Linked DNA regions of Homo sapiens: all the other regions are linked to region 3. Evidence: promoter capture Hi-C in 16 types of primary human blood cells and fetal thymus (Javierre and others, 2016). All regions are on one chromosome and are shown on one strand. Each heading gives the region's core, a stretch centred on a gene start or on the middle of the fragment in contact. The rest is flanking DNA. Distances are from core to core; before and after follow the strand shown. Region 1 holds the start of NKIRAS1 (NFKB inhibitor interacting Ras like 1). Region 2 has its middle 7.4 kb from the start of EOMES. Region 3 holds the start of OXSM (3-oxoacyl-ACP synthase, mitochondrial). Region 4 overlaps UBE2E1 (ubiquitin conjugating enzyme E2 E1). Region 5 overlaps UBE2E1 (ubiquitin conjugating enzyme E2 E1). Region 6 overlaps UBE2E1 (ubiquitin conjugating enzyme E2 E1). Region 7 has its middle 11 kb from the start of UBE2E1.

What was found. Contacts are between HindIII fragments. The CHiCAGO score rates a contact against its expected background, and 5 or more counts as called.
Region 1: the fragment with the promoter of NKIRAS1 here is called in contact with the fragment with the promoter of OXSM in region 3 in 8 of 17 cell types (non-activated CD4 T cells, naive CD8 T cells, total CD4 T cells and 5 more); the score reaches 23.1 in non-activated CD4 T cells.
Region 2: a contact is called between a fragment that was not itself captured here and the fragment with the promoter of OXSM in region 3, in 3 of 17 cell types (naive CD8 T cells, naive B cells and activated CD4 T cells). The highest score is 11.7, in naive CD8 T cells.
Region 4: a contact is called between a fragment that was not itself captured here and the fragment with the promoter of OXSM in region 3, in 9 of 17 cell types (total CD4 T cells, naive CD4 T cells, activated CD4 T cells and 6 more). The highest score is 13.4, in total CD4 T cells.
Region 5: a fragment that was not itself captured here is called in contact with the fragment with the promoter of OXSM in region 3 in 5 of 17 cell types (activated CD4 T cells, naive CD8 T cells, total CD4 T cells and 2 more); the score reaches 19.3 in activated CD4 T cells.
Region 6: a contact is called between a fragment that was not itself captured here and the fragment with the promoter of OXSM in region 3, in 5 of 17 cell types (total B cells, total CD4 T cells, non-activated CD4 T cells and 2 more). The highest score is 10.4, in total B cells.
Region 7: a fragment that was not itself captured here is called in contact with the fragment with the promoter of OXSM in region 3 in 1 of 17 cell types (non-activated CD4 T cells); the score reaches 8.2 in non-activated CD4 T cells.

The regions. Positions count from the first base shown.
Region 1 is chr3:23,914,420-23,918,281 of GRCh38, forward strand. It overlaps NKIRAS1 (NFKB inhibitor interacting Ras like 1), which reads right to left and starts at 2,571. Exons shown (of 5, transcript NM_020345.4): 1 at 2,365-2,571. RPL15 (ribosomal protein L15) reads left to right here and starts at 2,713. Exons shown (of 4, transcript NM_002948.5): 1 at 2,713-2,754; 2 at 3,431-3,612. The coding sequence starts at 3,441. RefSeq lists enhancers at 2,175-2,974, 2,226-3,425, 3,355-3,454. The HindIII fragment of the contact is 19,179 bases long and covers 1-3,862 here.
Region 2 is chr3:27,727,921-27,731,529 of GRCh38, forward strand. No RefSeq gene overlaps it. Among named protein-coding and RNA genes, the nearest start is that of EOMES, 7.4 kb to the left of the region's middle. RefSeq lists enhancers at 304-1,235, 1,236-2,165, 2,166-3,097. The HindIII fragment of the contact is 4,662 bases long and covers 1-3,609 here.
Region 3 is chr3:25,787,593-25,791,473 of GRCh38, forward strand. OXSM (3-oxoacyl-ACP synthase, mitochondrial) reads left to right here and starts at 2,498. Exons shown (of 3, transcript NM_017897.3): 1 at 2,498-2,555; 2 at 3,398-3,881. The coding sequence starts at 3,429. It also overlaps a transcript of NGLY1 not described here. RefSeq lists enhancers at 1,977-2,506, 2,646-2,715, 2,726-2,795 and a silencer at 2,324-2,543. The HindIII fragment of the contact is 1,038 bases long and covers 1,832-2,869 here.
Region 4 is chr3:23,887,079-23,891,029 of GRCh38, forward strand. It overlaps UBE2E1 (ubiquitin conjugating enzyme E2 E1), which reads left to right. Exons shown (of 6, transcript NM_003341.5): 4 at 489-621; 5 at 2,034-2,181; 6 at 3,431-3,951. The coding sequence ends at 3,528. It overlaps NKIRAS1 (NFKB inhibitor interacting Ras like 1), which reads right to left. Exons shown (of 5, transcript NM_020345.4): 5 at 2,873-3,951. Among named protein-coding and RNA genes, the nearest start is that of NKIRAS1, 28 kb to the right of the region's middle. The HindIII fragment of the contact is 551 bases long and covers 1,694-2,244 here.
Region 5 is chr3:23,812,474-23,815,928 of GRCh38, forward strand. The region is part of intron 3 of UBE2E1 (ubiquitin conjugating enzyme E2 E1); the gene reads left to right. Among named protein-coding and RNA genes, the nearest start is that of UBE2E1-AS1, 7.3 kb to the left of the region's middle. The HindIII fragment of the contact is 7,557 bases long and covers 1-3,455 here.
Region 6 is chr3:23,829,316-23,833,274 of GRCh38, forward strand. All of the region lies in intron 3 of UBE2E1 (ubiquitin conjugating enzyme E2 E1), which reads left to right. Among named protein-coding and RNA genes, the nearest start is that of UBE2E1-AS1, 24 kb to the left of the region's middle. RefSeq lists enhancers at 95-524, 1,444-1,653, 2,174-2,223. The HindIII fragment of the contact is 6,760 bases long and covers 1-3,959 here.
Region 7 is chr3:23,792,874-23,796,695 of GRCh38, forward strand. No RefSeq gene overlaps it. Among named protein-coding and RNA genes, the nearest start is that of UBE2E1, 11 kb to the right of the region's middle. The HindIII fragment of the contact is 4,856 bases long and covers 1-3,822 here.

The DNA.
Region 1 (3,862 bases), core at 1,321-3,820, 1.9 Mb before region 3:
GTGGGGAAACCACCTACACTGTGTATTTACTTATGTCAACATTATGTATAGTGTGGAATACTTTCACTTATCCATATATGAATATATTTACATACATAAAAATATATTCAACAGGTTTTGCACACAGTATTGCACAAAATAAAATGTAATAAAGCAGATTCTAGCTTACCATTCTTTTATTCATTTACCAAACATTTACTGAGGGCCTGCCATCATGCCAGCCATCAGGGACAAACTAGGGGGCAAAAACAGAAATCATCCCTTGTCCTCAGGAATCTCAAAATCAACTGGAAACACAAATCCAAATCTTGTAAAACTGTTAACTGAGAAACTACAAATTGAGAAACAAAACTGCAAATGTGATTGATAAATTAGCAGTGATTATTCACACTACTAGAATTGTTTTTCCAAATGATTCATCCAACTTTTTAAATTTTATTTTTACTGCTCCTTTAGGAGCAGGACTACGCCCATAGGCAGCGTACCTACAGTAGCACATTCAACTTTTTAGTCATCCTCACCTTTGAAATACATACAGGGCTGCACTACTTACCATTTTCATCACTACTGAAGTGGTCTGGGTGAGGCACCATGTTCTCTCACCTGGTCTCTCAAAGATATCGTAATCCCCCAAACCTGTGAATATGTTTACTTTACATACTCATACAAGAATTTTGCGGGGGTGATTAAATTAAGAACTTCCATACGAAGATATTATCCTGAATTATCTAGGTGGGCCCAGTGTAATCACAAGTGTCTTTATAAGAGACACACAGGAGTGCTGGAGAGGACAGAAGGTGTAATTGGAAGATGCTCCTTTGCTGGCTGTGAAGATGAAGGAAGCAGTCAGGAGCCAAGGAATTCAGGCAGGCTTCATAAGGTGGAAAAGCCAAGGAAATAAATGTACTCTCCCCTAGTACCTCCAGAAGGAACACAGCCCTACTGACTTTGGTTTTAGCTTGGTGATATTTACAGATTTACAGACCTAGTCTGATGTACAAACTAAAAGACGGTAAATTTGTATTATTAACCAACAAAGTTGCTGAAATTTGTTACAGGAGCAATGGAAGACTAACACAATTTCCTAAGCAGTCTCTCTGCTTCCATTTTTTCTCTCCTTTTAGCCTCAAAAGGAGCAATCCGAGTTATCTTTTTAAAATGTACGCCATATGAAGTCATCCTTCTGTTCAAAATCTGCCAATGAAATCCAAAGTCCATGTGAGAACCTTCACCTCTCCGACGTCATTTCCCACTTTCCCCTACTGTGAATTTCAGCCACACTGCTTCCCTGCTGTTCCTCTATTAATCTTGCATGCTCCAGTCATGGCTCTTCTCCCTCTGCCTGAATCAGACCCCTACTCTTACTCCCAGACTCCTATCCTTGAAGTCCTTTCTTAAATGTTACCTTCTCTCAAAGACTTAACCTGGACACTCCATTCCAAATTGCAACCCTCAGCCGCTAACACTCCCTCATCACTTCCCTCCCCTTATCTTTTTTCCTTAGCATTTACCACCAAACCCAAAACACAGCTTACTTCTGCTTACTGCCCATTTCCAAGAAGGCCAAAAATTCTGCGTTGTTTCCTGCTGCATCCCCAGCAACTATGCCTGGCACATATTAGACACTTAATAAATATTTGTTGAATCAATCAATGAACCAGATAGAGACTCTTAAAAACGTAAAGCTGTGATTTAAAAAGAAAGAAAGAAAAATATGATGTGGGAAAAAAGATAATCAAAACCGCTACGATTAAGAGATAATGATTCTCTTAAGCCTTTGCCACATCTGAACGCATAATCTGGAAGGAAATTAAAGCCACATGACTTAAATTAAAGCCAAGTGAAAATATTCTGGAGAAACAAAGTAAGCCAGTAACCTATTTCTCAATTTAAAAAAAAACCCGCAACGCAAAATGCCAGCATTTTCTCGGCATTTCTTCTCTAAAACATTCACACCTGCCAAACAGGTCTTGGCAAATAAACATTCTGCTCTTCTGAAAAACTGTGGTTCTCATGTTAGCAAATTTGGGACGAAATCCGTATGCAGAAAAAGCGCCGGGCCGCCCGCAATCCACCCACTCCATGACCCTTTTTTAGGACAAAATCCCTGGGCGCTGGGGCCTGCTGGAGGAGCTTCACGCAGTCTGGAGCTGAAGGGACACAGCGAGCGCCCCGACCCGCGACGCCCCGACTCCGCGAAGGCCTCCCTGGGAGGCTGGGGAAGCGTCGGGGGATCTCTCAGCGCAGCTCTGGGGCCCAGATTTCTGCGCCCGTCGTGCGGTGGCCAGAGAGGGACAGCGCAGCGCGGAGACGCGGAGACGCAGAGACTCCGCAGGGGGAGAGCCCGCGGTGCGTGAAACAAACCTGTTCTCTCCTCAGACCTCAAAGACAGCGGCTCCACCGCGGTACGCGGCCACCGGCTTTGGAGCCTGGACCCCAACTTGCCTCCTCTCGCGGAGAGACAGTCGCCGACGCTCGCTTAGCCGCCGAGACCTCGCCGCCAACTCTCTCACCTCTCGAGACGCCCAGGCCGCTCAGGCTCGAATCTTGCGGAGCAGGGGGCGGGACAATAGCGGCCGCGGCGCCCCACTCGGCAGAACTCCGCCACCAGGCGCGATGCCGGAACTACATGTCCCATGACGCTCTGGGAGGCCGCAGCTTTCCACCGGAAAGAGGGTGGCTGAGGTGGGGGAGGAGCCCAAAAGGCATTGTGGGAGTACAGCTCTTTCCTTTCCGTCTGGCGGCAGCCATCAGGTAGGCTGCGTTGAGGATCTTTGCTCTTCCATCCGCCTTTGATCGTCTTCCTCTTCAGCCATCCAGGTCCGGGGACCCTGCGTCCTCGGAGATAGGTCTCCCTCCTGTGCGGCCAGAGTTTGGTCAGGATGCGGGACAGCAAAGGGGTGGAGAGGCGGCCCCCGGGGCGGGTTGAGCGAAGATGTGATGGCGGCGCGAATTCGAGCTGGGCCCGGATCCTGGAGGAGGCGTGGGGCTGACGAATGGGGCGCCCGGGACAAGGCAGCCTAAAGTGAGGCTGCTGGTTGGGTGGGGTAGATGCATTTTCCTCGAGAGTTAATCCTCGGTGGCCGCAGCAGTACCTTGTCCTGTGATGTCAGCGGCATCTCCTTTCAGGTCCTCCTTGGGGACGCCGCCTGCCGCAGCCACCCGCCCCCTTGGTGCTCAGTTCTGGTTCTGTTAATTCGCCCCACCAAAACGTGCCGAGCACCGCTCTGTGCTGGGGTTGCGGAAGTGACTGAACGCGGCTCCGTGGGCGCAGTGGTGGGGGTTGGGCTAGCTGTCCCCGGCAGTTGGTGCAGAGCCATTTTCATTCCCGGCGGTTTCCTTGTTTTTGTTGGGGAACTAAGATGGACGGATACAGTCGTCTTATTGTACTTAAAGCGGATGATATTTAATACACAGTTTGATTTCACAGGTAAGCCAAGATGGGTGCATACAAGTACATCCAGGAGCTATGGAGAAAGAAGCAGTCTGATGTCATGCGCTTTCTTCTGAGGGTCCGCTGCTGGCAGTACCGCCAGCTCTCTGCTCTCCACAGGGCTCCCCGCCCCACCCGGCCTGATAAAGCGCGCCGACTGGGCTACAAGGCCAAGCAAGGTACGTGATCGACTGCGTGGATGCTTGGATAAAATTATATTCGAGAAAAGTTGGAAACCAGCTGTTAGGAAGACACTGCTGCCTCAGTGTCTTTCTTCGCATAGGGCTTTGGCAGAAAAAAGCTAGCAACACTGGTCAGTTACTGTATGCACTGTTGTCTAAAGTGGCAAGTGTGTCAAAGGTTACAAATCTGAATGAGTTCAGACTAAAGCAAAATAAACAGTGTGCCTCCCTGTGTGAGTAGCCTAAG
Region 2 (3,609 bases), core at 803-3,302, 1.9 Mb after region 3:
TCCAGACCCTATGTGAGAAAAGTAGGGAGAGGAAGTTTGGGTTGGGGGCAGAAATAAGTAAGCCCATAACATAACCAAGTAAGAAACAGTGAGAGGGAAGGAGAAAGGAAGGACAGACAACAGGATAGAAAACCGTCGCAGTCATTCCTTAAAGGTCTCCCTTTCCAGACTTCTAAGAGAAAACAGAACCTTGTATCAGAATTGTATGTATTTGTGGCTGTAACCTTTACTATCTTTGTGAGTCTGGGAAAGCTCTTTAACTTCTGTGTGCCTCAATTTCCCCACTTGTATAACAGCATAATTAATATGAAGCAATTAGAACAGTACCTGGCACCTACATAGGAAGTCTTTCCTACTACTCGCCATTACACTTAGACTGAGCTTACTTTTTACCGTTCTTACTAAGATACTGGAGCTAAATGAGGATGAATAAACCTTAGTCTTTTTCCTCCCGGGGATTCCCAGTCCGATGGGGGAGGCCAGGAGCAAACAGGTCAAAAGCAACGTGAACCAGGGGTAGGAAGCAGGAGGGAGTCAGTCAGAACCAAAGAGAGTCCCCAGTTACTCTAGCAGCTCTTCTTTATTTCCCCGAAAGGGGAAATCAAGTGCCCTCCCGGTGAGCTCGGCTGGAGAGGTGCACTTCAAAGCGAGGCGGCTGGGGCGCCCTAACCAGGCTGTGCCTTCCGCCCCCTCCAGGCGGCCATTAGCATTCTGTTTTTCCCAAGGCCTCCAGTATCTCCCGCCACCCGCTGGGATTTTGCCGTTCCGGCCGATTACTTGTCAAAGAAAGAAAATAGGGTATTTAGCTCAGCTTTTGTTCTCCACCTACTTGGTTAAACGCCTGACCACGAAGGAGTTAAGTGAGTAGTCGGAAGCCTCCCGCAGGGTTCTCGCTCCAGGAGAAGGCACCCTTAACTGGATGTCCAGAAAAAGAGGCCATCTGGATCCACTCGCTGTGGGTCCCTGCGGGCCTCAGTGGCGGCATCTGCAAATTAAGGGGACAGAGCAAGTGCAGAGCAAGATCTACCGCAGAGAGCGGCTGTCGAGGGAAGTCCGGAGGAGGCCCCGAAGGCCAAGCCGGCCTGGGCTGCTTAATCACTCGGTAGGGGCCGGGACGGTCCCTGGAACTCCCTCCCCCCACAGAATATCAAGGAGCCATAGTAAAGGCGTATCCAAGGGGCAACAAAGAGCAGCTAGGATCATTTTTCCACCACTTAGGGCTGACTTTTCAAGAACAGAGTTTATCTGCAAATTCACAAAAGAGGAGAATAAGAAAAGCAGCAGCTGACTTTGCTCTGCTTTACTTGTATAATCTTTTAAAAGAAAAAGCACCCTAAACTGTTATAATCCCATTTTACAGAAGAGTAAAGTGATGCTTAGAGAGGCGAAGACCCTGGCTCAAAGCACCCAGCTGAAAATGGTAGCCTGGGGATGTGAATTCGAGCGGTCTGGGCTGCGGGGCTCCTAGTGGGGGGATTAAGTACGTGTGAATGGTGGCAGGGCTGGGTCATTGTTTTCTTTGGGGGGGACAGATGTAGGCTATGGAACGGGGACCCTGTGAGTCTTCGGAGCAAGCCAGTGAACGGCATTCAGTACCCATCTACAGCCGGTGGACCTTCAGAATGAGTCTCTGGAGAAAACCGGGCTCCATGACTCGGTTGCAAATCCCAACTTTGCGGTAGAATCGGTCATCCTTGCTTGGCATAATCATGACATGGGTTGTCCACTCTCTAAGTGCTGGGGCTGGGCCAAGCCCTTGGCATACATCATCCCATTTAGGCTCTCACTCCCACCTCTTGAAGGTAGGTGCTTTCAGCATCTTCGCTTTACAGTTAAGAAAATCCAGGCTCAGAGAGATAAAATAACTTGCCTGAGGTTACACAACTTGTGAACCTTAAGTCCAGGAGGACCTAGAAGATGGAGAAGGCGGTACCTTCTGCCTGGAACTCTGAAACTTTTAACAGAAAACTGATCCCTCGGTCCCGAAGAGAGAGGCGCGGCAAAGCAACAGCCAGTTCTCTCCCTCATCCCCTTCCAGATAAATTTCCTTTTCTCCTACTCCTCGCTGGGGTTTGCGGTGCCCCTGCCTCCTGCATGAAAGCGCGCTCTAAAGCTAGGGTTTTTGGACTTTAGGAGCGCTTCTCGCCTCCCCCTAGACGTTTGAAGCCTTCCAATTGAGCAAGGGCTGGGAAGCGAGAAGGCTCCTCTGGTCTCTCCCTCCTCTGAGCGCGGGACCTCGGCGGACACCCTAATCCCGAAACACTCCTCTCTGGGACTGCGCACTTGCCAGCACGACAGCCAACTCCGCCTCAGAGGAGTCTTTTAGGGCTCTGAGCGAGTGGCGAATGCTCCCCCGGTGATGCACTATCGCTCCCACCCACGCCCTGGTACGCGCAGCCCGGGAAAAAGAAAAAAAAAAGTCCACGTAGGGGCTCAAACCCAGGCGTCAGGCGCTGCAGTCAGGGAAGGCTCCCTTAGGGGCTGGGTTCCTGGCGCTTACGACGCAGAGAAGGATAAGGGCGATGGTTTCGCAATCCCACCCCCTCCTTTGTCCTCCTCCCCACCTCCCAGCCTTTGGCGGCTTAGATCTCCAAATGCAGTCTGGATGGCACTCAGGTATTCGAGCGCCCCAGTTTATCTTATCACCGCCCCCTACAAATACACATCCATTCCAGATTGGCTTCTGGGAAAAGATACGGGGGTAGGGGATCCCACATATTTCCTCTCACCCTCCCTCTTTGGTCCTTGACGCCGAGAGTCTTCTCTGTTTCTCCGTACCCTTAGGTCATCGTCCAGGGCAGAGGTTAATTTAGACATCTTGACTGCAACAACTGATAACACTTACATACATGTATGAATATATCAACAATACATTATATGTAGTATATATTATATAATATAAAATCAATATATACTTAACGTACTTGCATGAGTTAAAAAAAAAATACCCAGCAACCCAAAAGCCACCAGATTACCAACTCTTGCGCCTCCCAATTCCTCGAAGTGAAGGCAATCACTATTAGTTTCTCCTGTGTATTTCTGGGGCTATAATGTTATGTTTGCACCAGCAAGTACGTAAGCGCACCTGAATTTCTCTTTATCTGTCCCCCACCCATCTGCACGCTTTTATACACTTTATTAACCACCTTGCTTTTTTCACTTATAATATATCTTTAAGTTAGTTCCTTGGAGACGTCGGAGTTTTTGCTAGCTTGACATCCCGGGCTCACAACTGGCGGGAAATAGCTTAAAAATTATATTGATGCTTTGAGGCCTTTCCTTGCAGCTGCTTGCGCCCACAAGCTGCAGTCCTTTCCCCGGTCAGCAGCCGGCTGTCCCGCACCCCCCGGCAGAGCGCAGAGGGTCGAAAGATTTGCGCCGCAGAAGACGCAGCGTCCCCTTGCGCTGCGTGTGCGGAACCCCGCTGTGAGAGTTTCCCTTTCACTGAGACTCCTTCATTGTTTGTCCTCTGAGACCCCCAAAGCAGGTAAACAAGCACTGATACCCTGCCCTGTGATCAGAAGCTCTTGGGCCAGGGAGCGATCTGCTAGATGGTCCCAGTGCTGCCTTAGGTCAGATCAAAGCGGAGGACCTAGAGGGAACCGTCAG
Region 3 (3,881 bases), core at 1,248-3,747:
GGAGTAAGAGAGACTCCAGTGAAGGGAATGAGAGAGTTTACCATGTCCTTTCTAGAGGAGTTTAGAATCAATAAAAGAATGTTGCACTCCAAATTATACCATGAAGGCTAGCATATGGTCTCTGAACTACGGGATTAAATCCAAAGTCCTCAGTATGATACCCCAGGCTTTTGTGATCTGGGCCCTGCCTTACTCTCATGCGTTTACTGTTGCTTTGTCCCACACTTCAAATTTGACATGGGCCACATATTTAGCTGTTTGTGGAAGATACCATGACACTTCATTTCTCCAGGCCTTTGTTCTCCTCCTGCCAGGATGCCCTTTCCCACCCAATTTACTAGACAAACATTCATTTCCAAGATGCAGTTCAAGGATCATTTCTCTGAAGCCTTTTCTGACTTTACGAGGTAGCACAGACCTCATTGTCCCTTTTGTGTTATAATAATTCCACTATAGCACCTGTTTCAACAGTTTGCACTTACTTGTTTCTATGGGTGTCTCCCTTTACTAGACCATAAACTTCTTGAAAGCAAGAGCCATACCTCTACTCATTTTTGCATTCAAACTTCAAGCATTGATAGGAAGAAAATGAGTGGTTGTTGAAAATAGCAAAAGCACAGAGATGAGAAAAGTTAGGGTCAATCAAGACATGTATAGTGAGAAAATCAGTTTGCTGGGTGGCAAGCTCATTTAATAGAGAATGGGAGCCATAATTGGAAAGATAGTTTTGAATCAGATTACAAAGAATTTAAGGCAAACCTAGGAAGTCTTAATAGGAGGGTAGGATAAGCAGAGCCCATTTGAAGATTTTGGTGCAAGAAGACACGATGGAATTGTAGCAGGAAATATGGTACCAAATATGTAAAGCCATTAAATATCATAAAATTTCCCACCCTTTTCCAGATCAAAGAAAAGGTGATAAGAGGTAGATACAAAAATGATGGTCTTTTTATTTTTCTGAAAGATTTTGTCACCTCTTAGCCAAGACGATTTTGTGATATTACAAAAGAAATAGCACATTAAAACTGTATGTTTCTTATGAGTTCAGCTTCAGAGAAAATATTGTAGGTATTTTCACACTATTATTTTAAAGACAGCAATGAAAAGAGATCAAGTTTAGGTACTTACTCATCAAGTGTTACTTTATAACCACATGTGTTTGTTTTAATTCTTCAAGAAACTCTACTTTGTCACTGAATGAGGATCAACTAGAGGTGACTGGTTAGGCCTGGGACGAAGGTCAAACTGAGCTTTGCTGAATTATTTTAAACAAAATAGATTTCCAAACTCATTTAAATCCAGGACCAACCTGGAAAGCTAAGCTTGACTCACATTCTTCTGTAGGGGTAGGAAAGAATGCAGAGCACTCTACTTGGAAACAATGGCTTCAAGAGGCATTGCCCAGAAAAAACCATAAATATGACTAGAAGGTCCAGATGAAGATTCTATGCTCAACCATTTTTCTAAAGAAGAGCAAGGACAAAACTCACGCCTGGGATAGCATGTGAAAAACAGATGTTCGATGAATACCATCTTGTCGACTTCTTGCTTTTTTACATTTTCATGTTATATTTTCCCTTTATCGGTTTGCAGTCAGCTCTAAGCAAACAGTTAATGAATTTTTCACACTTAGAAACAAATGTCTCCATTGTGACAATGGAGACAATTTTTGAGCACTGTCTCAAATCTGGTGATAATTTTTTTTTAAGTGAAAGGAAGTTTATTAGGAAAGTAAAGGAACAAAGAATGACTACTCCATAGGCAGAACAGCCTGGTGACAACTTTTAAAAAGTAAAAACTTTATTACAAAAACATTTGTTTATTGTAGAAAAGCTTTATTAAATAAAGCTAAGCAAAAATAAGGAGGGAAAGATCACAATCAGTATACATCTTGCAGACCTTTAAAGAATTATTTTTGAAAAAACGGATATATACTGTTTTGTAACTATGTCTCCTAACAAATAGTCGCAACATCTCATTAATAAATATTCACCTGCAGAATTATTTTAAACGGCTGCATGGCATTTGGATGTACCACAAGATACACAACAAATTTCCTGATGTTGGCCATTTTGGTTAATTCCACTTTACTCACAATTACTAATAACGTTGCGAGCTATAGCAATAACTTTGAAACTGCAGAGAATTTCCTTAATTCTTTCTTACAATTCCAGTAGAATACGATGGTGTCCCTTCTCCGACAAAAGGGAATATTTGGGCATTATCACTGCCAAAGAAAAATGCCTTTTTGATGGGTGAAAATGCTACCTCATCGCGTTATTGGCAGGTCCTCGATTATCGGCGAGTCACTGAGGTTCCGAGAGGGGCGTCTCTGCTCACGCAAACAGCTACCCAGCCGCCTCCCACGGTCTGACCTCAGCCAAGGTGACGCGGCTTAAAGTCAACCGGCGGAAAGAGAGTCGAACGGGACGCGTGCGTGGGAAAGCGCATGAGCGTACGTGCGAGCGCGCATGAGCGTACGTGCGTGTGCGCGTGCGCTCGAGAGCGTCATCGCCCCCGACTGTGGAGAAGTGTCCGGGGTAGCCCCGTTACAGGTATCGCTGGCTACCCTCCTCCTTCGCCCCTCCTTTCCTCCTTTACATTCAAATCAAGTCGGGGTTGAATTTCGAGAGGGGAGTCCGAGGACCTGGGGCCTGATTTCTTTTTCTCTCGCCATGCTTCTTCGGGCTGTGTACATGTGTGGTGGTGCCTGAGAGGCGATACAGGGAATGGCTACACTCTTTTACTCCCGCCCCTGGCCTTCGTAGTACCCTTGAAGTGATCCACTAGTCGTAACCCCTCCTTCCACCAATGATTCAATTGGAGAAGTTTAGAGGAGTGGAAAGACTTGTCCCCTTCCCCCATCGCAAGCTTGGTCACAGAGTGTATTGCCAACCCATGTATCCAGACGCTCAGTCTAGGGCTCTTGGCCCTGGGTAGCGTTTTGAAAAGGCTGGTTATCCTTAAGTACTGAAGATTGATAAAGCCCACTTACTTACTTAAAAGAATATGCCCTGAAATGTGTTTTCTGTGCCACTGACACCAGAAATGCTATTTAGAAGAAGTTATCAGTAATCCTGACAAAGGATGCTTCCTGCAGCTCAAATCAGGCTGGAGGTGCCTTTATATTTTTCATTGAATTACTGTTTTGGTGACTCGAATGAATCATCAATTCATTTATTTGTCTTCAAATGTCTGACGGCACTTAAGGTCTAAAAAAGAAGGTAAGTTTAAACAGATAGTTTGATGTTAAGGTATAAATTGAAAGTATGTAACATTTTCCCTGTGTTCATTAGCAGCTCATATCAAGCACCCAAAGGAACACCTTGGATGTTTTTCCTTAGGCCCTTAAGCTATTTAAAAGAATACCTCCTAGGTGTGTTGTGGTCTTTTACAGGAATGTGTTTCTGATCATCTGAATCTTAATCATGTCCAACTGCCTGCAAAATTTCCTGAAAATTACAAGCACTCGTCTTCTATGTTCAAGATTATGCCAACAGTTAAGAAGTAAAAGGAAGTTTTTCGGAACTGTGCCAATATCCAGATTGCATAGGCGAGTTGTCATTACAGGCATTGGCTTAGTGACTCCTCTTGGTGTTGGAACTCACCTGGTTTGGGATCGTCTTATCGGAGGAGAGAGTGGAATTGTTTCACTGGTTGGTGAAGAGTATAAGAGTATCCCTTGCAGTGTTGCTGCTTATGTGCCAAGAGGTAGTGATGAAGGTCAGTTCAATGAACAAAACTTTGTGTCCAAATCAGATATCAAGTCCATGTCTTCTCCCACCATCATGGCCATTGGGGCTGCAGAATTAGCCATGAAGGATTCTGGCTGGCATCCTCAGTCAGAAGCTGATCAAGTGGCTACTGGTGTTGCAATTGGC
Region 4 (3,951 bases), core at 719-3,218, 1.9 Mb before region 3:
TTATAAACCATCTATTAGATTCTTTTAAAGGTGAGATTATGGAGATAGAAGAGCAAGGAAGAGCCAGTTAGTGGGTCAGAAAATGAAACTTCTGTGCTTAAAATGGTCATAAGTGATGTAGCTGTGAGCAAAAACTGCTCGCATTTGTCACTAATTTCGCTTCTAGGTGCTGAGATGTGTTTCCCATTTTAAGTATTGTTTACACTTTCCTACGTGTCCAGGAGAGTTTTGAGAATTGAGGAAAGTTTCCTGCTTATTCGTAGCTAGGTAGGCTTAGAATGGTTTTAACATTCTTTTATCATCCAGTTTGCTTGACCAATGGCTATGGGTTTGTTGCAGTTCTGCATCCGTTTCTGTACTTGTTTTGTAAAGAGAATCCACACAGTAAACAAAAGAGAGGAGAGAGGTAATCTTTCCATCTCTTTTAATACACTGTAAAAATTGGGATAGTGCCACCATCTGCTTATTTGTTGACGTATTATTCACAGTGCTGGTCCCAAAGGCGATAACATCTATGAATGGAGATCAACCATTCTAGGGCCTCCAGGATCCGTGTATGAGGGTGGTGTATTCTTTCTCGATATCACTTTTACACCAGAATATCCCTTCAAGCCTCCAAAGGTAAGAAATCTCCCTGTATGCTCAAATTTACTAATTCCCACAAGAGAGCAACTGTTGAGGTTTTTCTAAATTTAATTTTTAATCACAGAAACTAGATTTATCTTATGTCCTAATAGATCTGAGTATTTTAACATATACAAAACACTTCTTTAGGTTGATTTTGCCTTATCTGGCAGAGACCATTCTAGGATTAAGTGCTTTGTTTTGATGGTGCTTAAAATTGTGCTATTTATAGTAATATTGTCAGCAACCTAGAATTAATCCCCTGTTTTCCAGCCCATAGAGAAATGTTTTTGAACCTTTCTCGAGGTTAAAAATGGTGTCAAGCCAGGTGCAGTGGTGTGCACCTGTAGTCCAGCTACTTGGGAGGATTGTTTGAGCCCAAGAGTTTGAGTCCAGTCTGGGCAACAAAGCAAGACCCCAAAAAAAGGCAGGGCAGGTCAGGGGGCCAAACAACTAGAGAATCAGAATCTCTTCCCAAAGCTTTGGATTCTGTTGTGCTCCCTGTCATGTTTTGGTCTTGTTCCTTTACCTCCAGGCCTCAGTTTTCTTTCTAGGACAGGTGAGGATTGCCCAAGTCACCCATCTCCTGTACTCAATCTATGATTCTCATTCAGTCAGAAAGAAAACCCCGTCTTGGGGATTAGGTAGACTGCCAGATAAAAGTACAACTGCAGCAACAAGAAGTAATCGAAAGTCACTTTTTTAAAAAATTGGTAAAATTACAGGTAATTTTTACTTTGTGTTTTGGTATATTTCACAAATAAAAATTAAGAGACCCAAATAACACCAGCTTATGTGACTTGTGTTCTGCTGTGGTCCTTGCCCATTACTGGCTCTGCATCCATGGACACTCGATTATATAATAGTAAATTCTGTGATGTAGGTAGACAGGATGTCTATAGGACCTGATGTAACGGTCAGAAAAAAGCAGAAATAGACTTCTCTTCAAATTTTGTTCAGCCTTTTGGGTGTAGTCATTGTTTGCTAAGTATGTTGTTTAATTATCTTTATGTACCCATTATGTTGCACTTCAGTTTTTAAGAGGTATTTATGATTCTCAGTATTTTAAAGCTTACTTTGAGGCAGTGTAGTACTACCAGCTAACACAAGAGGTCAGCAAACAATTAGCTATTCAAACTTGGAAATGTTAATATTTAAAAGATTTAAAATTGCTAAAGATGAAATTAGGAAGTACTGAACTTACCGTCAGTGGACATAACATTTTAAATGAAATTGACACAGTCCCTGAGATGGTATCAATGAACACTTTCTAATCAAATTTATTGTCTATCTTCTTGACAGCTTTAATTAAAACTGCTTTTAGTCACCTTCTTAAGGGTCATTCAGTTGAATATTTAGTAACAAGTTTGTTTGCTGTTTAAATATTGTCTGTCACTTGTTTTTTTTAGGTTACATTTCGGACAAGAATCTATCATTGTAATATTAACAGTCAAGGTGTTATTTGCTTGGACATATTGAAAGATAATTGGAGTCCAGCACTAACCATTTCTAAAGTCCTCCTTTCTATCTGCTCACTTCTTACAGACTGTAATCCTGGTAAGGTTCATAATTCTTTACCTTGTTTTATTCTTCCTTACCTGAAAAATACTTGTTTCCAAAAGCTTTCAAAGGACAAAACTAATTTTTCTGCACAAGTTTGTGAATACAAAAACTAATCGGCTTTTCAAAAGAAAGTTTTAATCAAGTTCAGTCTACTAGTTGAGACACACAACTTCATTAATCAGTATATTCTAGCAACAAGGTATTTTAAACTGAAGACTGACGTAAGTTTGCCTTGGGCTTTTAGTTTCAATTATTCTTCCTCCTTTTTTTTTCCTGTTGCTTAATTTCCCATAGAGTTCTTATAAAACAAATCAGACACTTCTAAATGTCGAGTCATCTGCCTGGCAAGCCTCACCTGTGCCTCTGGGGTTCAGTGAGCATGTGTCCCATAGCTGGTCACTGAGATGGCACTCAATTTTGAAAATGGTAGTTGTTAAATACTTAGTGACTATTGAATTGTGACTTTTTTGGGACTTCATTTCATTTAAAAAATATTTTTCTGTAGTCACAGCTACTAGGGTGGCTGAGGTGTCAGGATTGTTTGAACCCAGAAGGTCAAAGCTGCAGTGAGCCATGAGCATGTCACTGCACTGCATTCCAGCCTGGGTGGCAAAGCGAGACCCTGTCTCAAAAAATATATATATATACACATATGTATATATATACACACACACAGACAAATATATTTTCTAGGTAAACCAAATATAAATTTATTAAAGATCCTAAGATTCAGAGAAATACTATACTTAATTGGAGGTCCAGGTTTTGCCTGGCAACCTGGCTCTTTAACCAGCGTAAAGGTTAATAGTGTTGCACTGCAACAGCCCCGAAGACTTCACAGTATTCACAATGCCGTTAACTGGTGACATTGAGCTAAGGGTCACATGAACACAGCTGGATGTTCATTGCAGTCTGAAGCCTTGACCGTTCCAGTCTCTACTGAACTCAGCCTAACACATAAGAGTAAAGAAACTCCAATTGAGTGTTGTTTGTTGGGAGAAAAATGGAATGAACTAAGATAAAGACAGACCAGTACACTAAAGCCTAAGCATTCCCTCTTCCCCCAACGTTATGTTTTTTTGAAATTTTGATGGAAAAATATCCAGCATGGTGGAGTGGTGTTTCGAAGATGGGTTTGATCACACATACTTTGTCGTACGTATCTACCCAAGCTGTCACTATTCGCTAAAGTTTAAAATGTTCTTTTCCTTTCTCCAAAGTAATCTACATTCTTTTCTTCCAGCCGACCCCTTGGTGGGAAGTATTGCCACTCAGTATATGACCAACAGAGCAGAACATGACAGAATGGCCAGACAGTGGACCAAGAGATACGCTACATAAATTGGGGTTTCACAATTCTTACATTATTTGTCTGTCACAGAAGAGAGCTGCTTATGATTTTGAAGGGGTCAGGGAGGGTGGGAGTTGGTAAAGAGTAGGGTATTTCTATAACAGATATTATTCAGTCTTATTTCCTAAGATTTTGTTGTAACTTAAGGTATCTTGCTACAGTAGACAGAATTGGTAATAGCAACTTTTAAAATTGTCATTAGTTCTGCAATATTAGCTGAAATGTAGTACAGAAAAGAATGTACATTTAGACATTTGGGTTCAGTTGCTTGTAGTCTGTAAATTTAAAACAGCTTAATTTGGTACAGGTTACACATATGGCCATTTATGTAAAGTCCCTCTAAGACTACATACTTTTTGTTTAAAACAAAATTGGAATTTGTTTTCCCTTCTTGGAAGGGAACATTGATATTT
Region 5 (3,455 bases), core at 327-2,826, 2.0 Mb before region 3:
TTTTGTTTAGTAACAGTGAACTTTGGAAACTAATTAGTGGATTAAATACAAAACTATTGCCGTTTTGGTTACATTCATTCTTAATGTTGATTAGGTGTGGGATGCTCTTCCGTGAAACTTTGTCCTGTTTTGTAAGGAAAGTCATTTTGAGTTTGAAATGCTCTTAAACTATAGTTTATAATTGGAACACTTAATCATTCTGGGGAATTCTTTCCTGGCTAATAATCTCTCAAGATGGTTGAGAAGTGGAAAAACCATAAGACTTAGGCCTAACTCATTATTTTGATGGTGGTGGTTCACGTGGAAGCCTGTAGCTTCCCTTGGTTGTTTGTGTGGAATCCATGTACATTCCCCAAGGTGGTTCTGTGCTGTCTAGTTATTGCTCCTGCTTGGTATTGTGTGTCTCCTATGTGTGTGTTATTAATAACATTGATTAAAACATATAATGGCTTTCTTGTGAATAAGCACAGTCAAATCTAAAATTGTAAACCATTTGAAGATTTTCATGGGATTAAGCATTTAAAAAAAAAAAACAGTGTAAGTACACTTCAGTTTCACATCGTTTTAACTGAGTTTATGTGTGAAAGATTTATGCTCCTGAGGCATGTGGAACTTTTTTATCTTTGGGAAACCCTCCCAATTACCCCTTCAAGGTGAAACGTTTGGGAATTACCTGTGGTCAGGGGATGCACCAAACTGGGTGGCTGTTGGGTGATTGGTGTTACGGAGTCAAAGCTCAAAATACTAAATTTTAAGAAAAATCTCTGATTTGAGAGAAAATACGAGGCATCTTCATTTTGCAAGAGAATGTATATTACATTGTCTTTTAACAATAAAGATGACTTTATTTTCTGAAGATATTTTCCAGTGGGGCCGTTTGAGTAATGTGAATTAAAATTTTTACTTTTGGTTGGCTAATGGTGCTGTCTTAATGTTATATAGTAGTCCCAATATTCAGCTCTCTTAAAAGAGTTCGGTTTTACGTTTTGTGCTGTTACCTTTTGGAATTTAATTATTTAGTATTTTAATGTACTTTATTGGAGATAAAGATGGATTATTTATTTATTTATTTATTTATTTTCTTTTTGAGACGGAGTCTTGCTCTGTAGCCCAGGCTGGAGTGCAGTGGCATGATTTCGGCTCATTGCAACCTCCACCTCCCGGGTCCTGGTTCAAGCAATTCTCCTGCCTCCTGAGTAGCTGGGATTATAGGCACGTGCCACCATGCCCAGCTAATTTTTGTATTTTGGGTAGAGATGGGGTTTCACCATGTTGGCCAGGCAGGTCTTGAACTCCTGACCTTGTGATCTGCCCGCCTTGGCCTCCCAAAGTGCTGGGGTTACGGGCGTGAGCCACTGCACCTGGCCTTGGGGATACTTTTTGAAGTCAGCGTCCAATGAAAATCTATGAATTAAGTGATATATTAAGTGCGTACATGTTTAAAATTACCCTCAGCATGAAAGCATGAGATTTGAATGAGTTAAATAATTGGTTTTCAATTAGTCTGTCTTATATTTTTACCCTTTGCCATACTTCCTTTCTTCAGTCAGCATTCAGTGTGTAGTTTTAAACACGTTATTAAAATATGGCACTTGGCACATAGTAACTTCTCAGTAAATACAAAAATTAGCCGGGCATGGTGATGCACTCCAGCCTGGGCGACAGAGTGAGACCCTGTCTCAAAAAAAAAAGTTGATTATTGCAAATCAGTAGAATTGCTCCTCTTGAAGGAAGGTGCACTGTTTGTGTTCACTAATTTTGGCACTTGGCAAAAATATTTGAAGTTACTGAGCATCAAAACTTATGTGAAATGCAATTGCTCAATATGTTATAATGTATGAAAACATAAAATTAAATTCTTAATGTTGTATATTATGTTGGGTGGATATTTTTTAGAACACAGTACAGATTGTGTTCAATGACCTGGTCCAAAGTCATTTTAAGTAAGTATTTTCAAACTGCTTTATGTTGCCATAGAAATCAAATTCTTAATTTTAGTATCTGTGATTTGTGTGTGTGTGTATATATATGCATACACACACACACAAAATAGTTTCCCAACTCACTCTTCATTTTGGTTAGGCTTTTATTCCCATATCATTTAGCTCTATTCTTTTAGGGAAAAAAATATGTTAACTTTGTAATGATTCCCTAAAGCGTGCCAGATCTTAGATTGTAAAATTATGCCTTTTAGATAGCTGATGAACTCTGGGCCACCAGAGTCAGTTTTGCAGCTGTTATTTATAGCCCAGGGCTCAAACTTTGCTAAATTGACTAGTTATAACTAGCCTGTAGACACGAATATCTGTAGACAGTATGTCTATACAGACTAAATGGCATATTTTGCCTAAGTCCTTTAAACTTCAGATTTTATTTAATGGATATATTTGTTTCATGAGTAAATGTCTCAGTGACTTAACCTAGAAATTCAGATGGGGTGCTATTTTAGGATAAAATGTCTGAAAAGTCATTAAACACTTCAAGCATGGGTGAGAATAATAAAAATACATTTCTTTCTTTCTCACTTTTTTTTTGAGACAGGGTCTCATTTTGTCACCCAGGCTGGAGTGCAGTGGTGCTCACTGCAGCCTTGACCTCCTGGGCTTAAGCTGTCCTCCTGCTTCAGGCCCCCAAGTAGCAGGAACTACAGGCGTTCGACACTACACTCGGTTAATTTTTTGTATTTTTTTGTAGAGACCAGGTTTTACCTATTGGCCAGGCTGATCTTAAACTCCTGGCCTCAAGCCGTCCACCCACTTTGCCCTTCCAGAGTGCTGGGATTACAGGCGTGAGCCATGGTGCCTGGCCCTGATACTAGTTTTTCTGTATGTGACAGAATTTCCATTTAGCCTTCTTTTGATAGCTTTTTTTTCCCTAACACTGCCTATATTTTAAATAGTTTTAAGCCATTATATTATACAAGAATGCATGTTTTTGAAAAATTCAAATACAGAAGTTTGTGGAGTAAAAGGCAAAAGATAGTCCTGATGACCTCTTCTGATCCTGCTCCTTGCACACAGATGCTCCAAGTTAGCACTTTGTATACTTCCACGTAGTTTCTGTGAATTTACATTGTGTTTTTCTGGCATTCCAATACCTCCTCGAATTGGTGGTAATGGTAATGAGATGTCAGTTCAGAAGTCCCAGGCTGCTCATCATGGTTCACAATGGAAAGAGATCCTTTTCTTGCAACAGTGGAGTGTTACATACCTCGTCCAGGTTCAGCATGTTTTAAATGGTTGTTTGGGTATAAGAAATAGGTTCAGCAGAAGTCATCCTTTATAAAACCCTGTATCTTATGTGCTAAAAAGTATTCTTCCTTTTAGCATCTTTCATTTATCTGATGTTACTAAATGCGTTAAGGATAGAAGTGTGACTTAAACATCTGAATGATGTTTAGTTTCACCATTGCAGTGTGTATACCTTTATGCATGTAAAGGCAGTGTTGAAAAATT
Region 6 (3,959 bases), core at 252-2,751, 2.0 Mb before region 3:
AAGTCCAGCTTTTTTTTTTTTTTTAATAGAGACAGGATCTCACTATGTTGCCCAGGCTGGTCTGGAACTCCTAAGCTCAGATGATCCTCCTGCCTCAGCCTCCCAAAGTGCTGGGATTACAGGTGTGAATCACCACACCCAGACCCAGCTGTTTTCTAAATTTTTTTGGAGAGGTGGGGTCTTGCTGTGTTGCCTGGGCTAGTCTCAAACTCCTGGTCTCAAGCAGTCCTTCTGCCTCAACCTCCCAAAGCACGGGGTTTACCAGTAGCCTGAGCCCCCATACCTGCCCCTCTCCTGGAAAAGTGCTGAAGTGGGAAAGTTTACAGATTTAGGGAGTCCAAGGAAAAGGTTGAGGTCGAGCTAATAAGAGAAGGAGAAAGGAAAGAGGAACTGAGAAAGGAAAGGGGTCTAGAAGAGCGGTTAGAAATGGGGACTTTGGTTTTCCCCTCAGGCTTAGCTCACTACTTTCTATAAATAAGAGATGTCTGAAAGAGAAGCAGATAAAAGGAGAAAGCCTTCAGCAAATTTGTGAGTTGATAAGCATGGATTGATTGGCTCTGTTGGCCTGGGTTCTTGAGGAGTTTGCTGCTATTTCGGAATTTCTGTAGAGAAACCCTGGCATTGTCAGGATATGGGTATGCCACATGTTTCCCTTCCTCCCCCTTCCCTCCACTCCTTCTTATTACCTAGCTAGCTACACCTGGAATTTTGGTTCTAGAATAATTTAAAAGATACTTTGTCAAGAAAATATCTTTGGAAAAATCATGCATATATTATTTTTCCTTTTTTCTTTTTAACTACTTCCTGGTTCTTTAGGCTCCTCTAATTCTTACATGCATGTGCTTGATCTCTGGGCCATGCTTGCTTCTAGTTAAGTAGCCTTTCAGGATGGTGTTTAATTTATTCTGAGCCCTTTATAATATCCCCTGACAAGAGCATGGAGTGGATAGAGGGAGTCTTAGTCAATATGTATTATAAATAGATTTAGGGTTCACAAAGGTCAGCAGCCTTCATCTCTTGCCCTACCCCCATCACACACAAAAATAAAAATCACAAATAATAAAGGATTTTAAGAGTTATACCAGTCGGGAGTGGGTTCATTTTTTTGTTTTTGTTTTTGTTTGTTTTTGGCAAGCTGAAGTCATCTGTTGGATCCAAAAATGCATAAAAATCTTCAGGCTTATAGAACCAACAGCATCAAAGGAAGAGCAGTGTGACTCAATATTGGGGTGGGGGCAGGTTTGGGGTTTTGGTTGTGTAGAAGCTCCTTATGAGAGAACAGTGTGATGCTTGGAGCTGTGGAGAATCCAGCCACTGCTTTTTCTCTCTTCCTTACCTTATTACTCTTCTTGATTCACCTGGATGTGGAAACTGTCCCTGTTTAAGAGTGGCCTTGTCAATGCTCTCTGTGTATCATGTGTACAGTAGGGAATGTGTCAAGCCAGATGAGTGGTCTCATTGAAACATCAGCAAATCAGTATATCGTAGAATTTAGATCCCCCTTGGAGGTGGTGGTGATAGCTAACTTCTGTTGCGGTCTTAACTGTGGGTCAAGTTTTGTTCTAAGGACTTTGAACATTAGAAACTCATTTAAAACTTAAACCATTCCTGTTGGTGGTCATGTAATCCCATTTTACAGATTATGAAATCAACATTAAGGTTATGTGCAGCTTAGTAAGTGGAGAAGCCAGAAGAACCCACGTGATCTGGCTTCAGGGCCGATACTCAACCACTGTACTTTGGAGAGAATTAGTCATTCTGATACCACTTTTGTTATTAGCTAAGACTCTTTATGTTGCAGGTAACAGCAGTCTAATTAATTCATTTAAATAAAAAGATAATATTATAGGGATATTTGAGTGTGTGTCTGATAACCCAGGAACTGAAATGTTCTGGATATCAGAAACAACAGAAACCAGGAATTCTCTCCAACTCTCATCTATGCTCTCACTCCAAGTGCGCTTTATTTTTTCTCACATCGCAGATTGCTCCTGGCTGCCCACAGCCTGCCTGAAGAACATGACCACAGGCACCCAGAGAGAAACTTACTTTTGGCCAGTTGTAAAACTCTTGGGCGAGGGACCAGTTAGTCTAACTTGATTGAGTTTTGGATCAGTCAGCTATTTTGGTAATTAAAGTGAAAGGGTCCAGATGACACTAATATTGGGAGCTAGTTTGACAAAATATTTAACAAAATGAATACTTTTTTTTTTTTTTTCGAGACATGGTCCCACTCTGTTGCCCAGGCTGGAGTGCAGTGGTGTGATCACAGCTCACTGCAGCCTTGATGTCCCAGGCTCAGGTGATCCCCTCCCACCTTAGCCTCCTAAGTAGCTAGGACTACAGGCACGTGCTACCACACCCAGCTAAGTTTTGTATTTCTTTTTTTTTTTTTCTGTGAGACAGAGTCTCACTCTGTTGCCCAGGCTGGAATGCAGTGGTGCGATCTCAGCTCAGTGCAACCTCTGCCTTCCAGGTTCAAGCCATTCTCCTGCCTCAGCCTCCCAAATGCTGGAATTACAGGTGCCCGCCACTATGCCTGGATAATTTTTGTATTTTTTGTAGAGGCAGGGTTTCACCATGTTGGCCAGACTGGTCTTGAATGCCTGACTGAGCTCAGGTGATTCGCCTGCCTCCGCCTCCGCCTCCCAAAGTGCTGAGGTTACAGACATGAGCTACCATGCCCAGCCAAATACTTTTTTCTAAAGGAAGAAAACTTAGTCATTTATTTAGCTTTAATAATTGGCTTTTTGAGTTTGTTCAATACTTTAAGCTCTGTGAGCATATGGATCATGTCAGCCATCTAGCACAGGGTTTAGAAAACAGTAACTGCTCAAACTTTTGCTGTGAATGAATGAAGGAGCAAATGAATGATTTTCCTGAAAGGGAAATAAAAACAGAATTCAGTTTCTGATCATTGTCCAGGGAATGGCTTGGACACAAATAGTTGACCTGTTGGAAGAGAATATACATTTTTAATAAAGGAGAAGGGACTGTGTTTTTCCTGGAGGGAGGAGACCTGTAAAGAAAAATATAGAGGTGTGGGGGGCTGGGCGCAGTGGCTCACGCCTGTAATCCCAGCACTTTGGGAGGCCGAGGTGGGCAGATCACCTGAGCTCGGGAGTTTGAGACCAGCCTGGTCACCATGGCAAAACCCCATCTCTACTAAAAGTACAAAAATTAGCCAGGCGTGGTGGTGGGCACCTGTAATCCCAGCTACTCAGGAGGCTGAGGCAGGAGAATCGCTTGAACCCGGGAGGTGGAGGTTGCAGTCAGCCGAGAGAGAATCGCTTGAACTCAGTGGGTAGAGGTTGCAGTGAGCTGAGAGAGAATCGCTTGAAGCCGGGAGGCGAAGGTTACAGTGAGCCAAGATCTTGCCACTGCGCTCCAGCCTGGACAACAGAGCGAGACTTTGTCTCAAAAAAAGAAAAATACAGGGATGTGGTGACTCACACCTGTAATCTCAGCACTTTGGTTAGCTAAGGCGGGTGGATTGCTTGAGCCCAGGAGTTTGAGACCAGTCTGAGCAACATGGTGAAACCCCCATCTCTACAAAACAAATTTTAAAAAATAATCCAGGTGTGGTGGTGTGCCTGTCATCCCATGTACTTGGGAGGCTGAGGCAGGAAGATTGCTTGAGCCCAGGAGATTGATGCTGCAGTGAGCTGTGTTTGTGCCATTGTACTCCAGCCTGGGCGACAAAGTGAGACCCTGTCTCAAAAAGTGGGAGAAAAAGAAAAATATAAAGTATTCAAGTTAATTTTAACTATATAACACCATACCTTTTGGTCAATTTTTCAATTTTTGTCCCTTTTCTCCCATTTTTCCTCAGTCTCCATATATTTGTCTCTTAGCACTTCCTTTTATTTTCCATAACGTACCTCTCAGTAGAGTATAAAATGGAGATATTTTTTATTTTTAAAATATGAGTTTTGTGTTGCTTGTTCCTAACCTTAAAA
Region 7 (3,822 bases), core at 331-2,830, 2.0 Mb before region 3:
CTCAAAAAATAATAATAATAAATTAAATAAATAAATAATAAAATTAAAATAAAGAAATTGCATGGTCACTTTGTTTGGGTATAATTGACCAACCATCTTGATTCAAAAACCAAGATTAAAAAAAATCCTTTAAAAAAAAAAGGACTTTTTTTTAAAAACAGAAACAGCAGAATGGATCCTTCCAGAACCACATGGTCCCTTAATATTGTTTTAGGACCAACTAAAGCTATTTGGAAATCAATATTTAAACATTTTTATGAAGTGAGCCATATGTCAAACAGGACAAAAGGAGTAGAATTGTAAAGAAGAAAGCATAGAATAACTGTTTATGGTGTTAGTTCCTATGTCTATTTGCCTCTAGGCAAAGTTTTTTTTTTATTATTGTTGATGTGATTCCTTTTATTCTGTTGTCAGTACCACTAGAGCAGGTACTTAATAAATGATTCTGATTGTTACTTTATATTCATATTGCATGTCTCACTTTAAGTACCTATTTGTTTTACGGTTATTAAAGTAATACAGTAGCAGCAATGGAAGTCTGAAAAACAGAGAAAAACAAAATAAAAATGTCTTCTCCATCCTCTAATACAACAACTGGTACTTCTGGGTCATTGCTTTACTTTTGTATGATACATACGATTTCCTACGGAGTCTCTGCAGCCAGGCTGGCTGGCTTTCCATCCCACCTCCCCCTCTTACCAGCTGTTTGACCTTGGCCAAGTTGCTTGAACTCTCTGTGGCTCAGTATCCTCACCTATACAATGGAGGTGATAATAGTACTCATCTCTCATGGTTATTGTGGGGATTAGCTGAAATAGTGAGTGGCAAGCTCTTGCACAGGGCTTGACATAGTGATTGCTCAATAAATGATAGGTATTGGTGGTGGTGTTATTATGATGTTGCTGTCATCGTCTCCTGTGGTTTTTATCATACCTTGTGAAGTTAGAGAGACTAGTATTAGTTTTGTCTCTCATAGAAAACTGATAAAAGAGGCTAAATGATGTTCACAGTTCCAGCTTCAGCTCCAGTGGTGGTAAGACAAATGAGAAATGGTAGATATTGCTCCTTCTCAAGAGACGGTTTTTAAGTGGCAAGCAGTCATCACTTCCTGATGTGATACAATGGGACATACACAGTGTCACTTATGCTATGACTTGACTATCTTGCCAAAAATGTGTAACTGGCATCGAATCACGCCTTACTATGAAACCCTAAATTATAAGACATAGAAGAGATAGAGTTCCTCAAAAGAGAAGGTTGCAGAAAAAAAAGAAAAAAACTAGAAAAAAAAAAGAGATAGAGGGGTCATGTTAAATGGTAGCGTGTAGAAAAACAATCAAGCTAATCCAGAATGTGGGACATTCTGCAATACAAACTAGCCATACATCTTTTCAACAAGTCAATGCTACAAATAAAAGAAAGGCAAAAGAGGTGGAATAATTGGGGTTTGTTCTAAATTAAAAGAAACATAACAGGCCCAGTGTAGTGGCTCATGCCTGTAATTCCAGCATTTTGGAACGCTGAGGCAGGTGGATTGCTTGAGGCCAGGAGTTCAAGACCAGCCTGGGCAACATGGCAAGATCCCATCTCTATAAAAAATACAAAAATTAGCTGGGTATGGTGGCTCACGTGGGTAGTCCCAGCTATTTGGGAGGCTGAGGTGGAAGGATCACTTGAGCCTGGGAGATCGAGGCTGCAATGAGCCATGTTTGTGCTGCTGCATTCCAGCCTGGGCGACAGAGTGAGAGACAAAACAAACAAAAGCAGTGTTCATGATCTTTAGTAGAATAGTGATTTGAACCTAAAAGAAAATTAGAGAATTAAATATGGACAGAATATTTATACAATACCAGGGACCTATTGCTAGTTTTGTCAAATGTGATAATAGTGTGTCTAGCTTTTGAAAAATCATGTTGAAGAATTTAAGGGTAAATTATCTTTTTTTTTTTTGAGACACAGTCTCGCTCTGTTGCCCAACTGGAGTGCAGTGACACAATCTCGGCTCACCGCAACCTCCGCCTCACAGGTTCAAGCAATTCTCCTGCCTCATCCTCCTGAGTAGCTGGGATTACAGGCTCATGCCACCACACCTGGCTCATTTTTGTGTATTTAGTAGAGATGGGGTTTCACCATGTTGGCCAGGCTGGTCTCAAACTCCTGACTTCAGGTGATCCGCCCACCTCGGCCTCCCAAAGGGCTGGGATTACAGGCATGAGCCACTGTGCCTGGCTGGGTAAATTATCTTGATATCTATAATTTACATTAAAATGATTTAGCAAAAAAATGATTTGAAAATTTTTGATAATAAAAAGTAAACAAAATTTAAAAGAACCATTTTAGAAAGCAGAAGTTATGTGTCAAAGTTGTTCAGGACATGACCCAGCACAGTGCCATATCCAAATGTCCATTTGGTGATGGTGACACACAACACAGCTCTGCCTTCCACATCTTACACAATTAGGAGTTCATGTACATTTCATGAGGAGAGGACACAAAAATCCTACATTTAAGGGGGAGAAAACACCCCACCTTATACTCCTAAGGAAAACCTCTTTAGCCATTCCTACAAAGGGTCAAACCTAAATTCTCTAGTTTGGGGGCCTGTGTAGCACTTAGATGTGCAATAAATAAATGATAGGATAAAATTAATAATATGGGTTTATAATATAAACACATTGGAACTGTAAGTACTTTAAAAAAAATCAGAGCATAGTTAATAGTCTGGGTAAAGATTGATTCACAAGCAGAGACAGAGCTAAGAAAAATCTATAGGATTTGAATTCCCAACTCTAGGATCTGCACTAAGCCACTCATTTACAAGTGAGAAAGTTTGGGGAGAGTAAATGTATTCACCTCCCAGTTCATAAAATCTTTATTTTACTTTCAAGCCAAGTTTGAGAAAAATCACAAGTTTTCATTTTATTCTCTAGCAGTTTCCAAAAATAACATCTTAAATATATACCTCATAGACCAACCCACCACCCCAAAGATTTATTTTAAGCTAAGACACAACTGGAACCAAGTGAACTCTCAGCACTGGAACATAAATCTCAGTGTTAGAAAGAATCCTCATCTATCTTTCTATACTAGTCACAGATACACTGGTACCAAGGAGTGATCGAGAAATTGGGGGTACTGGCTTTTTTTTTTATTATTTGAGGGTTTCTGAATAGAAATCTTAACTTTTTATAATTACGAGAAAAAAACTGTTTTCAAAAAAAGTTGTGGCTCTCAACCCCTCAATATAGTAAAAATTAAGAACCCTAAGAAGAGAGCAAATGTTTCCTCAAATTATCCAGTCTTAAGTCTCTCTTCTAGATTAGACGTAAGAACCTGAATAACTCACAGATGTTTCTGAGAATGGCCTTTTCAAACAAAAAGTGCTGATTATGATAGGTGTATTGCTTCCAAGAATAAATGAGCAAATCTTACAGAGGAGAATTAGCCTGTTAAGAAGCCTAAATATTTTCACCAACATTTTCCATACTTGCCCACCTTGTGATTGACAAACTTCCCAGGGAAGTTTTTTTGTGTTTTAAACTTTGAAAATCCTAACTTGCTCACAGCCAGCTGTTTTTTAGATCTCTCGATTTAACATTTCTAAGAGGCTGGACTATCCTTCCATCTAAAGAGAAAGAGAATTAATTCCAGTAATGGACATAAATCCTTTGAAAACATCCTTCTCTTGATAGTTTTCCAGAACAACTTAAGCAGAAGCATCACGTACATGGGCCATTCTGATTCACTCATTTAGAGGGGAACATTTCTGGGCAAACCCCAGATGTTTTCTGACCTACCTGTTTGTTCATGCTCTTTCAGGGC